Linked DNA regions of Homo sapiens: all the other regions are linked to region 2. The links are contacts of gene promoters, found by promoter capture Hi-C in blood cells and fetal thymus (Javierre and others, 2016). All regions are on one chromosome and are shown on one strand. Each heading gives the region's core, a stretch centred on a gene start or on the middle of the fragment in contact. The rest is flanking DNA. Distances are from core to core; before and after follow the strand shown. Region 1 overlaps LOC107984326 (a long non-coding RNA gene). Region 2 holds the start of IFTAP (intraflagellar transport associated protein). Region 3 overlaps LOC107984326 (a long non-coding RNA gene). Region 4 overlaps PRR5L (proline rich 5 like).

What was found. Contacts are between HindIII fragments. The CHiCAGO score rates a contact against its expected background, and 5 or more counts as called.
Region 1: a contact is called between a fragment that was not itself captured here and the fragment with the promoter of IFTAP in region 2, in 1 of 17 cell types (fetal thymus). The highest score is 5.7, in fetal thymus.
Region 3: a contact is called between a fragment that was not itself captured here and the fragment with the promoter of IFTAP in region 2, in 1 of 17 cell types (fetal thymus). The highest score is 7.3, in fetal thymus.
Region 4: a fragment that was not itself captured here is called in contact with the fragment with the promoter of IFTAP in region 2 in 1 of 17 cell types (fetal thymus); the score reaches 5.3 in fetal thymus.

What each region holds. Positions count from the first base shown.
Region 1 is chr11:36,735,816-36,739,011 of GRCh38, forward strand. The region is part of intron 3 of LOC107984326 (a long non-coding RNA gene); the gene reads left to right. Among named protein-coding and RNA genes, the nearest start is that of RAG2, 140 kb to the left of the region's middle. The HindIII fragment of the contact is 1,519 bases long and covers 607-2,125 here.
Region 2 is chr11:36,593,252-36,596,628 of GRCh38, forward strand. IFTAP (intraflagellar transport associated protein) reads left to right here and starts at 1,251. Exons shown (of 6, transcript NM_138787.4): 1 at 1,251-1,341. It overlaps RAG2 (recombination activating 2), which reads right to left. Exons shown (of 2, transcript NM_000536.4): 2 at 1-944. The coding sequence starts at 917. RefSeq lists an enhancer at 1,158-1,297. The HindIII fragment of the contact is 5,310 bases long and covers 1-2,113 here.
Region 3 is chr11:36,753,377-36,756,946 of GRCh38, forward strand. All of the region lies in intron 3 of LOC107984326 (a long non-coding RNA gene), which reads left to right. Among named protein-coding and RNA genes, the nearest start is that of RAG2, 160 kb to the left of the region's middle. The HindIII fragment of the contact is 6,169 bases long and covers 1-3,570 here.
Region 4 is chr11:36,341,289-36,344,464 of GRCh38, forward strand. The region is part of intron 1 of PRR5L (proline rich 5 like); the gene reads left to right. Among named protein-coding and RNA genes, the nearest start is that of PRR5L, 47 kb to the left of the region's middle. The HindIII fragment of the contact is 2,496 bases long and covers 20-2,515 here.

The DNA of each region.
Region 1 (3,196 bases), core at 116-2,615, 140 kb after region 2:
GATCCTCTTATGATTTTAATATAGATCATACTGCTTTTATATTCAAAATGGTTAAGAGCTTTCCATTGTAATTAGGACAAAATTTACATGCCTTAGCATGGCTGACAAGGCCTTGCCTGATCTGGTCCCTGTTTTTCTCACCAACCTAATTTTTGCCTCGCCCCCTTACTCTACATGCTCCAGCCATATTAGTTGACTCTCACCTCCTTGATAGTGGTGAATTCTCTCAGCTTTTGTTTGTTTGGGAACGACTTTCTTTCTCCTTCTTATGGAAGGATAATTTTTCTGGGTACAGTATTCTCATATGGCAGTTTTTTTTTTCTTTGAGCACTTTGAAAATGTTGTTCTACTCTCTCCTAGCCTGCGTGGTTTCTGTTGAGCAACCTGCTGCCAGATGATTTAGAGCTCCATTATATGCCAATTTACTTCCTTTCTTTTGCTGCTTTTAGGATCCTTTCTTTGTCTGTAACCATTGAGAGTCTGATTCTTATATGCCTTGGGAAAGTCTTATTTGGGTTCAATCTGTTTCATGTTTTCCGACCTTCTTATACTCGGATATTTATATCTTTTTCAAGTTTTGGAAACTTTTCTATTATTCTTTGAATAAGCTTTCTACCCATTGCTCTTGCTCAGCTTTCTTTTGAACACCAATAATTCTTAGATTTGGTCTTTTCAGGTAATTTTCTATTTTTTGTGGGAGGCCTTCATCCCTTTTCATTATTTCTTCTTTTGTCTCCTCTGTGTATTTTCAAATAGCCGGTCTTCAAGCTCACTGATTTTTTTTCCCTCTGCTTTGTCCATTCTGCTGTTAGGAGCTTCCAATGAGTTTTTCAGTTCAGAAAACGTATTTCTCAGTTCCAAGATTTCCATTTGATTTTTTAAAAATTTCAATCTCTTTGTTAAATTTTCTCAATACATTTCTGAATTGCTTTTCTGTGTTATCTTGGAGATCACCAAGTTTCCTCAAGACTGCTATTATGAATTCTTGATCAGAGAGCTCACGAATCACTGTCTTGTTAGGGTCAGTGACTGAACTTTTGTTTTGTCCTTTTAGGGGAGGTCATAGTTCCCAGTTTGCTTTGTTTCTTGTGGATGTATGACAATGTCTTTGCAATAAAGGATTAATTATTTATTCTAGTTTTCTCTGGTTTGTTTTGTTTCTTTGGATATATTTGCTCAGCAAATACTGTTAGATCACTGCTCCCTTTTTGGTTCTAAGCCTTGTGCCTTAAGCCCAGGTTTGCTTTGACTCTAGTTAATGAGTGGAGCACTGCCTGTCCTGGATGGGGTTAAATTTCAAAGGAATTATCCCAGCAGTGTGGGAAGGCTGGCTAGGGGTTCATGCCCAATGGACCTATGAAATGTACCTCCTACAGGGTACTGCTGCTTAACAGCTACCTGATTTGGCATCTCCTTTGGCCAAGTTACAGAGCAGACTTTCCAGGGCTCAGGATGCTAGTCCCTCCTCCTCCCTTTGTCTCTGCCTGTCCTTAGGGATATTTCTTCCTTCAGGCAATCACTTCCCATGGGTTAAGGCAAGGACAGGTCTCCTGCCAGGCAACCTAAGATAGTGGGAAAGCTGGATGATCACCTCAATCTCACTTTTTCCAGTGTAGGAACTGTGAATTGGGTAAAATTACCTGCACACTTGTTGCCGGGAAGAATGTGGGTTGTGGGGAAGGGCATCCTCAGAGCCTAGATGGTAGGTAAATTCTCCCATCCTTTGCTCAGAGGTTTTTCACTTCTCCATGACCTCAAGATCTATCTCATCTTCACATTTGAGTCCTGGGTTGTTGCTGGCAAAAACTTTGGTACTGTATATATATTTTTGGTTTTCTGTGGGGGTTGATGATAATGTAGCCAGCTCACCTCTATACCACCATTTTAAAACCTACTCTCAGCTCCTTGAACACTCCAGGAGCTTCGCCAACTCTGGATCTTTGTATAATCCCACTCCGCTGCCTGGAATAATCCTCCACTTGGTCCTTGTATATCAAAATCATTCTCATCCTTTGGGTCTCAGACTAAATGCTATCCATGGAGGACTTTCAATCCAACATAAAATATCCAAGATAGCTGTTTTACTCAGATGTTGGCACCTGGCTGGAATGACTGGAATAGCTAAAGCTTGCTTGGCCTCTCTTTCCCCATATCCTTTTCTAAGCTAGCTTGAGGTTCCTCACAACATGGTACTCTCAGGATGTATCTATTCACATGGGAGCTAGCTTCCCCTAGAACAAGTATTCTAAGAAAGAATATTGCTACTTCTTTACAGTCTGGGTGAAGCATCACTTCCGTCATATTTTACTGGTAAGCACAGTGTCAGAACCAGCCTAGATTCAAGGGGAGGGGACATAGACATTTCCCCTCAATGGAGAGGAGTATCAGATAATTTGTGGACAAGTTATGCTATCACAGGGCCCTTCCTACAGCCTCCACTGGCACACAGTACTTGCCTTCCCATGACATTTAAACTGAATTGTAACTGCCTTGTCTTAGTGAACATTGTGACTTCCAGAGGCCAGCACAGCACCATTGATAAATATGTGTTCAATGAGTAAATGAATGAATGAAAATTAAGAAGGTTTGCTTTACATTTTAGATATCCTTAAGGTTCTGACAAACAGGAAACCCTTGAAGCCACGAAGCTTCATGAGGAATCAAATCTTTCTTGTTGACTGTTACTTCCTCTGTATTGGCACAGTACCTGGCAGGTATATTACATCCTCAATAGCTGTTTGTTGAATGAATAAGTGAAAGAATGCATGTCTATCAAAGCTAGTTCCACTTCCCTTTCAAAGGCACCAATGTCGATTGTTTGTAAGTAAACCTCAAGCCATTTTTGCTGTACTAGCTGCAGAGCCAGCTCCATTTCTGTACTTCCTATTCTTCTTATATCTCTAGCCCCAGATAACTCTGGGGAGCCACATCCCCAAGGACTTGACATTATACTTCACACGTGTATTCTCAGACACTTGAAGCAGGGGTAGAAGTGGAACACTGTTTTGAAATTCATTGAGCTCAGAAAAAAATGCCTTCAGAGCTAAGAGGTCTGTCAGTTATAATGTACAGACTTCTGGAGCTTATTTAGCCTTTTCTTTTAGGGGCACATTGGAAAATAGGAAATTGGAGGACTTGTAGAAGGATGTGGTAAATGTGATAAGCATATGAAGCTCTTTTCTGTGTGCTCAAAGAG
Region 2 (3,377 bases), core at 1-2,500:
TCTGGGGTCTCCATCTCACGAATTTCTATCTTGTTGTCCTCTAAAGAGATGATGTTGCAGATCATTCTTTTTTGATTTTCAAGCTGATAGCCACCAACAATAACAAATTCATCATTGTTAGTTTGAGTCAGGATTGCACTGGAGACAGAGATTCCTCCTGGCAAGACTGTGCAATTCACAGCTGGGCTACCCAGGGGAAGATCAACCCTTATTCTGTACAGGTTGGCAGGCCGGATATTATTGGCAAGTGAATGTCCTCCTAAAATATAGATGGTGTCATTTTTGGCAATAGAGACATGAAAAGATAGCCCATCCTGAAGTTCTGGAAGAATGTATGATGTAGCACACCCAAATTCAAAATCCACCAGGAAAACACAGGGCAGGCAGTCAGCTACACTATTCCATTTTTCTGTGGTTCTGTGGGTAGAAGGCATGTATGAGCGTCCTCCAAAGAGAACACCCATACTTTTCCCTCGGCTGTACACCACATTAATGGAATGACCATATCTGGCTTCAGGAACATCTCCTACCAAGTCTTTCTCTGTGCAGCGAAAAGTAACCTTTTTGTTGTTCTTGCAAACAATAGACATGACATAAATCTTATCTGAAACCTCATTGTTTGGTGTTTTCCCTCCATGGATGATGTATTGATGCTTTTCAGACTCCAAGCTGCCTTTGAATGTGCAAGTGGCTGGGTAGCGAAGAGGAGGGAGGTAGCAGGAATCCTTAGAGAAAATTGTAGGCTTCAGTTTGACATGGTTATGCTTTACATCCAGATGGAAAACTCCAGTGGGGCAGGATCTTTTGGGCCAGCCTTTTTGTCCAAAGAAGAAAACTTGTCCATCAAAATTCATCAGTGAGAAGCCTGGCTGAATTAAGGCTATGTTATTACTGACTGTTACCATCTGCAGAGACATAGTTTCTGATGGTACGTAGATTTTTGTCTGAAAGAATTATAAAATAAAATGACTTAGAGATCGCTTCATATAATCATCGTATTTAGATTCCTTCACATGTGAATAGCATTTTTTTAAGTCCTCCCACACGCTTGCAGTGGGACTGAATGAGGAAAATCCAAGGAGTTAGGTCAGTAAAGAGCCACAGAACCTTTACTGCCATTCCATCCAAGGAGCTGGGACATGTTTTAGCCACGGACTATATGCTCCCTAGGATTTCTGGGAATTGTAGTCCTTTTCCGTAAAGAGTCACCATGCGTCAGCTGAAAGAACCACATTTCCCAAGAATCCGTTCTCTCTGGGATGTGTAGCTTTGGAAATCTGTCTTTGTTGCTCTGGGAGAGGGGACTCCTGGAATGTGTCTGTGAATAAAGACTAGCCGAAGGTGCGAAGTGACTAGACGGGAGCAAAGGAGGAAAACTAGGGAATGGGAGGTGAGAGTGGCTGACACCGACCCAACGTCCGGGTTGCCGGAAGGCTGCAGCGCCCGGAGCGGTGTCGGGCAAACCGCTACCCTGGTATTGCTGGAGCCTCTCCTGGGGACTTTTGAACAGGTGACCCGATAGGAAGCACAACTGCTTCTGTTGGAGTGCGGTTACCTGGAGACCGCAGTCTGAAGGGACTCCCGGCAGAGATGTCGTTACGGTGTCCTGCCTGTCTGGATGCTTAGGAGCGCGACTCAAAACTACACCCCTGACGACCCTGGAGGTGCTTGGGGCGGGAGGTTGAAGGGGGCACCGAGGTTACAAAAGCCGTGACTGTCTTACAGAACCGAAAGATGGATCTTTGAATCCCTAGAGTGCAGGGGAGACATTGCCTGTTAAAGATGTTTACCACTTCTACATTTAGTAATAGAAATACAGTTATTAGGTTTTAACGAGTGCACTTTGAAGGTCCTTTGTTTTCTTCACTGTTTTTACTCCTGTTTTTAGGGTTCTTTTAGGGAAGCAGAGAAGGTTCCTAAACACATCTTCTTTTCATCTTCATTCTAGGAAAATAGAGTTAGTGGCTTTTTCACATCTTTCCAGTCCAAGAACTTTTGGGTAATTCTTTAATAATTCTGTAGTAAGTAAGCAGGGACTAAGCATAGAAGTGTTTGAATTATTCAGAATTTCATACTTGTGTTACAACAAAAAGAATATTTACTAGATGAAGGAAGCTTGATAAATTTCTATTTTATTATTGTTTACCTTAGAGAGTTGTGGAATACACTCCGTGTTTGCAGTGTGATGTCCTGTGCACCAAATGTTAAAGGAAACAAAACATAGCACAGATTTCTTGACTTTTAAGAGTTAATTCTTAATATGCTTCAAAAGCAGTATAAACAATGGCTGAGTGTGGACTCTGAATGCTTACTGGCTGGATTCAAATCCTGGCTCTGCCACTAACTACATGACTTTGGGCAAGTTATGTAACCTCTGTGTGCCTCAGTTTCCTCATCTGAAAACTGAGATAATAATTTTACCAACCTCATATATTGATGTCAGTTATGATTAATAGTTGAATATACGTAAAGTACTTAGAACAGGGATTTGCATATAGTAGACGATAGTTATGATTATTTTAAAATTTACCAAAAATAAGGTCTAGTGCATACGCACCTGCCAGTAATGGCAGTTGATAAGGTTGGAGAGGATGAGAAGGGGCTTTAGGATATGGGAATCAGGTCAGTGGGTATAGACAGATAAACATTTGAACTAAAAGAATTGGATAAACATATATGATGAGGGTGCTGGTAGTAGTTAATTTATTAACAGAAGATAGTTAATATTTTATTCTTCTTGTCACCCTTTGTCTAACTGGGGATAATCTTGGTATATATTCACTGGGCTGTTTTGAGAAATAAATGGGATAGCACGTGTAAATCACATAGAACAGTGCCTGGCACATAAACACTCAATAAATGTTAATTGATACTATAATTTATCTAATTTATCTTTATTCCTCCTGCAAAGATTCCTTGGACTATTTAGAATCTCTGGTCACTCTAATGAGATGGTAGTGTTTTTTTTTTGTTTTTTTTTTTTTTTGCTTTAAAGAACTTCTGTAGATCAGCTGTAATTTACTGCTAAATAATCTCTTGTAGTTATTATTTTCAGTCTACTTGGGAGACTCGTAAGGGGGTGATCTTTCAACAATTATCTGGTGGGTTATTAAAGCAGGTGAGGAAATGGTGTCTCAGAAGGATTATTATCAAAGTTATGAAAACAAGCCTGTCTCCCTCAGTTGTATATTCAGCAAACTGCCCTGCTTATAAAATAATCTAGGCAGTGTTTTATTTATATCATGGCCTACCCAAGCCTACATGAGGGAAGGCATCTGAGCAACTATGAAAAATGCTATTCATAGAAACTAAAAGGAGACATTATTGACCCTCACTTCAGAAAACTGTAGGTGATTACACTCAGCCTGAGTGATTAT
Region 3 (3,570 bases), core at 18-2,517, 160 kb after region 2:
TACATGGGCACAATGTGCAGGTTAGTTACATACGTATACATGTGCCATGCTGGTGTGCTGCACCCATTAACTCATCACTTACATTAGGTATATCTCCTAATGCTATCCCTCCCCCCTCCCCCCACCCCACACCAGACCCCAGAGTGTGATGTTCCCCTTCCTGTGTCCATGTGTTCTCATTGTTCAATTCCCACCTATGAGTGAGAACATGCGGTGTTTGGTTTTTTGTCCTTGCAATAGTTTACTGAGAATGATGATCAGGTGTCTGGGACTGGGAAAAGGCACAAACAGGCATCAGGAGAGGAAGTAGAGGAAAAAGACAACAAAAGAGACAAATATCCATTTCTCAATTTTGCAGCGAGGTAACCCTTTCCCCAGCCAACAGTTAGAGGAAAGTTCCTGACCTAAGGATCCTGTGACACAGACCCTGAGCGACTATATGGCAAATGCTGCTTTTGACAGGCAAGGCCAATGCTTCTTCACAAAGAGGTTGCACAGTTCCATCCCTGTCAGAGTAGCATCTGGAAAATGCCAACGACAGCATCCTATATATCCTCTTCCTTCTAGCTGGATGGATCCCAGAGCTAGGTGCTCACACAGGCTGGACTAGCAACTTGGTGCAACGGGAAGGAAATAATCTTTTTGACGGAGTATGAGAGGATCAAATGAAGTGAAGGATGAGACACGTTGCTGAGTCCAGGTAGAGTGGGCTCCTTTGTGAGTAACTAAGGCTCCTTGCTGCCACAAGAAGTCAGACTCTGGGCAGCCCTCCAAACCCTGGTAAGGACTTTGATCTTTATCCTAAGGAAAACAGGAAGCCATGTAAGTGTTTGGATTAGAAGATTTTGGGGAGAGTGACATACATTCAAATCCACTCAGAATATCTTACAGGGATGGTGAGGCCTCAGTGCTGCCCGCGTTTTCTATACCCCATTGGTTAGTTTTGGTTGATGCGGGTATTTGTTCTGATAGAAAAGAAGAACAGATGCAGTTTTTAGGAGGCAGGAATCAGAGACAGAGAAGTAATGCTTTATATCAGTGCTTCCCAACACTTTTAACATCATTTAACATAGCACACATAATGATGATTACAATCCTATAGCATATTGGGGAAATGAAGAAGATTGCTCAGAGCCTAAGTAAGGGGCTCAACATCTGGGACACCTGGAAGCCCTTTGTAGCACAAAAGATGCCCTGATACTCTGGTTTAGAGGGCAGCAGGTAGATTTTAACCCTTTCACTGCTGCTCCCTTCTTTGGACTGCACCTCTCTTACCTGCCTTCATGGTCTCAATCCATCTCTCCACAGTCTCCTTGCTGCCTCCACGAGTGTGTCCATTCTAAACACAACGTGCTGCTTTTGATTTGCCAAGTGTCTGATGGGCTGTTGACGGAAGAGACAGGCTGAAGCCAGCCTTTCATCAATGTTGGTTGTAGAAGCTGAATTATGTCTCTGCCACATCTTTGACACCTCTCTGTTCTGCAACTCCTATTGGTGGGGAATTCCCTGTTTATGAGAGACCCATGGTTCAGCCATCTTTCAATTAAACTTATTAAGAAAACAGGCCTTTGCGTTCCACTTGAGGGAAAGGGCATCTGAATCTGGAGAGGCATTCGAGGCACGAGGAAACAGTTGGTTTGAATAAGGTCACAGATTAATTAGAATTGGGCTTCATTAAAGCTGCATGAGCACCTGGACAACTTTGCCAAGACAGGGGATCATCTGGGTATCTTTGAACAGTCCCTTTCTCTTCTGGGCACTTGTTCTCTGGTTTGGGCCTTGATTCCAGCTGCTGTGAGAGACTCCTGTGCCTGAACGTGTTTCCAAGTCAATTATGCAGGCTTCTCTGAGGCTGCTTAGTTTGGTTAGAGCGCTATTCTAATGAAGTCAAGGTCTGAAGTTTGCTCTCTGCATGGGCTTTAGTTTCAGTCTGCTCTGCAACCCTGATTACCTGTTTCCTAATATGAGGAGAGAACACACTGCTTAGGGAAGGAGTGGGTATAGGAATTGGGAGCATCTTGTTCCAGCCTTCTCACATTTCTTCCTGTTGAGGCAGGCATGGATCCAGGTACCACTTAAATTACAGAGGTGTTCAGCTAGTGCATCCCTGCAGGGTCCTGGGGGCTAGAACCTTGTGAATGAATTTGACTCTGATGAGAGCGCCAACAAGGCATGCCATGAAGTGGCCAAGCTCTTCTTTCTCTTCATCAAATCCCCTTTTCCACCTGCCTCCACTTGGAAAGTTAGTTGATAAACTAATTTATACTAATCTGCAATAACCAATAGTAACTAAACATGTGCCCTGTATTGATGAGTCAATGCATTGTTTCTAAATCAGTGATTTTCAAACCATTATGGAAGTGTGTTTAGGGTTGTGTGGGAGACTGACCATCCCAGTGTACGTGGAACTGGTGTTTTCCAGAGTATAGAACACACAGTGCTAAATCCTGGAAAGCCCTGGGCAAACCAGCATGAGGTGGTTAATCTAGGGATTTTAGGAGGGATGACTCTGCGTGTGTGTGTGTGTGTGTGTGTGTGTGTGTGTGTGGCAGGGTGAATAAGGTGAGGATGGCAGTACCCAGTGGTGGCTGAGAATGGGGTGCCTGCCTCTACTTCAGCCACAGAGGCAACATGTTTTATATATTTTATATTTTAAAGTTGGATGAAATTTTCATTGAAAAGCATTGGCAAAGCTGTTCTCTCAAAGAATTAAAGTCAAAAGGAATCTATCAGGAACCAGAGCAAGGGAGATGTCCAGGTGTAGAGAATTCCTGAAGTCCGCTTTTCACCAAGAAGACACCTGCTACTCTGCCAACATGAAAAGCAGGGTTTAGCTGTTGTCACAGCAGAGAAAGGAGGGCTTATCCTTGTATGGAGACTAAGAGGGAAGGGACTGTTTTGAGAGCACAATAATATTTGACATTATAATTTGTGCTTTTCCCTGTATTTTCTTCTTTCATTTCCTCATTGAAGCAAGAGTCCAGGCACTAAGTTTCCTTCCCTCAGGAGAGTTTGCATCAAGGTGCAAGGTGGAAGCAGAGGTTGCCTACAAAACACTTTTCTTCCTGGCTTAGGGAAGTGTCATCTAATCAGAGCTCAATGGTAGGAAGTAGAGGGAAGGAAGTAGGGGATGAAAGACTGAAGTTGTTATAACAGCAAGAGCCTAAAGAGATGGCAGGACCTCAGAAGACTAAGAGGGAAGGGACTGTTTTGAGAGCACAATAATATTTGACATTATAATTTGTGCTTTTCCCTGTATTTTCTTCTTTCATTTCCTCATTGAAGCAAGAGTCCAGGCACTAAGTTTCCTTCCCTCAGGAGAGTTTGCATCAAGGTGGAAGCAGAGGTTGCCTACAAAACACTTTTCTTCCTGGCTTAGGGAAGTGTCATCTAATCAGAGCTCAATGGTAGGAAGTAGAGGGAAGGAAGTAGGGGATGAAAGACTGAAGTTGTTATAACAGCAAGAGCCTAAAGAGATGGCAGGACCTCAGAAGACAATAGTATTTGTGCACATGGGAATTTGTCCAAATCACATTTCTATTATCTATCTATCTGTCTGTCTGTCTGTCT
Region 4 (3,176 bases), core at 18-2,517, 250 kb before region 2:
AGTCAGAATTTCATTTGAAAGCTTCTATAATTCAGAGGCAAAGGGAATATGGCTGGTTCAAGGGGGTGACGGCTGTCCAAAGACCAACCTGAGAGCTGAAGATATTCACTGGGTACTTCGATATGCCAGGTGCTGTGGATGTAACAATGGACAAGCCTCTAGCATACATAGTTAAGATGATCATAGGATTCCAGACCAGAGTGCTTTGAGAGTGAAGAACACAGGCTTCAATTGGAACTATCTGGAGCTCAATGGGACATGCCGTCACAGTAAGCAGAGCCATTAAGACCACCCACAGCTCTGGAGCTCCCAATTCTGAATCTGGCCAAGTGACCATGAGCTTGTTTCTTGCTGCACAAAATGGGAACAATAACAGTACAGAGCTCTTGCCTCTCATAAATGTTGTAAGGGTTATATCAGATAATAATAGTGGCCAGAATTTGCTAAGAACCCCCTCCTCACAAGACAAGAGCTTGAGGTCAAGTCGTTGGGCTCTGTGGTGTTTACCTGGTTTTCCAGAAGCTGAGATGTCAGGTGGGCTTTGCAAGGTGAGAGCCAGTGCTTAATGGCTCTGGAATATCCAAGGGAATTAAAGAGGCAAAGGTGGGGAAGAGAACAGGAGAAACGAAGAGACAACTGGAAGCGGAAAGAAATGTTGGGTGGACATTGGACAGCTAATGGAAATGTTTCAAAGTACCTACTGTTTGGTCCACGCTGTGATTCCATCTACAAGCCCGTCTCTGCATAACGTCTTCAGCAAAGTAGCCATTGTTTCTGAACGTCTTGATGGAGGCAGATCTTTTTGGGAGGATACAGCAGACTCAAGGTGGGTCGGCAGAGGGAGCTGAGGCACTCCCCATGTCCTACTCCGCACTCCATGAAGGCTCAACTAAGGGTGAATTGGTGAACACCAAGTGCTTAGCCTAGTACCAGTCTGTAGAGAAGTTTCTATAAACCGTATTATTATCACCATTATCTTTATTATGTAGGCTGGCTTTGGTCTATCAACACTAACCTGGAAATATAAAGCTGGAGATCAGTAGGGCAGACGGGGGCGAAATATGCCCCATAAGAACAAAGGGGAGTGTTATTATTATACATTATCCCTAGGGAAGCCTAGGGTTCAGGAGAAAGAAATGACTTCGAGAAATCCCAGGAGAGTCTCAGGCAGCTCTATGTGTGCCAGGTCTACCTCCAGTAAGACATGGGTGGTATTCCACACTGATCAGTTGTTTGAAGAATGAGAAGAATGTTAATTAATCCTGTTATCTGAGCAGAGTACTTTCTGGTTCAATTTCTCTGATAAAACCACCCTGAATGGAGAACTCTCAGAACACCCAAGCAGGCCTCCTTCTAGGATCCCTTGAGGTTCAGCGAGACTTGGAAACGGGTGGGATGGGGCACCCTTTCTGGTCCTAGGAACTTCAGGGTCAGGGCTGACTCTTTCCTCTCAGTGTTCTGACCAGAGACCCTTTACAATCCAGTCTTCTTCTCCCTTTAAATATAGCCGCACTTTAGAAAGAAATGGGAAAAAATTAATTCATGTGTCACTTTGGCACATTGTTTTTTTCTCATAGTCTCTCCTTAAAACCTGCAGGCATTTAAAAAAATACTGGTGATGCACCAGGGACTGCATGCTGGGCACTGGATAGAACTGCTTTAGAACAGACTTCAATAAGTGAATTGTTAAATTGAAAGGCAAGAACAATTTGATGTTTCGAGGAGATCATGGTTTTGCAAAAGCGATTCTTAAAGTGATTGGCAGCTTATGGGGATTCACAATTTAGCATGAAGGGCTGACGATCTCAAAGGCAGCTGGGCAAAGACCCCAGAATGATTCCTTCAGGACCAAGATGTGACTGGCTTGTGTGATTTGTATCAGAATTCCATGTTGATCAGAAATGCATTCAGAATTGTTTCAAATGTTAAAAAAACAGAAAAGAGAGACAAATTCTAGTTCAACATCTGTAAGGGAGTACATGTACTCTCAGTGAGTGATATGCAAGATTTGCAGATTAGACAAAAAGTATTGTTAGTGTCTACCCTGTGTGAAAAGTATATAAGACGCCTTGACCTTTGTAAGTTCCTCCATCTAGCTACTTAGAGGATTTCTTTGTTGCCTGAGGCTGTCTGTAAAGGTCTCACAACCTTGCCTCTGAAATATGGTTTCACTTACCTTGGGGACCCTTTCATGCAAGGTGGAGGTTGGCCTGAACAGCTAAAAAGACAGTGAACAAAGACTTCACTGAGCACGCAGTAAAGGCTGTAGGAACCACATTATTTCTGCTCACTCTAAAAGTTGAGCAGATGTTGGTAGTGTGGAAGATTTGGTCTGAGATTTGCTCTCAGGTGGTAGAAGAGCAGCTAACTTTCACCCATCAGCCTTTATAGTGGTTTCCATCACTTACCAAAAAGAAACTAAGTATACGTACATAAGGTATGTGATTCTCGCAATGACGCCGTGATGTAAATGCTATTATTACCTCCACTTACTGTTGAGGAAACAGGTCTGGAAAGCTTAAGTCACCTATCCAAGGACACAGTCAGAATATAGATCTAGGGCATTTGGTTCTAAAGCCCATGCTCTTTTTACAATGTAGAAATAAGTTTTATGTTGTTTTTTTTTTTTTAAAATATCACATGCTTGGTGGGGTGCGGTGGCTCACGCCTGTAATTCGAGCACTTTGGGAGGCCGAGGCGGGTGGATCACCTGAAGTCAGGAGTTCGGGACCAGCCTGGCCAACATGGAGAAATCCCGTCTCTACTAAAAATACAAAAATTAGCCAGGTGTGGTGGCATGTGCCTGTTATCCCAGCTACTCAGGAGGCTGAGGTAGGAGAATCACTTGAACCTGGGAGGCAGAGGTTGCAGTGAGCCAAGATTGTGCCACTGCACACTCCAGCCTGGGCAACAAGCGCAAAACTCTGTCTCAAAAAAAAAAAATCACATGCTCATAGAAAAATCAGAAAATATATAAATGTATGAAATAGTCTAATTCCACTACTCACAGAAAATCATGTTAAGTCTTGGTGTATTACTTCCAGACCTATTTCCATGCACATTTAGTTGAGATTGCACTGTATTTACAGTTTTGTGTTTTGCTTCCTTAACATGTTATAAATATTTCTTGATATTATTAAAAGTTATTGACATCATTTTTAAGGCAAACATAATGT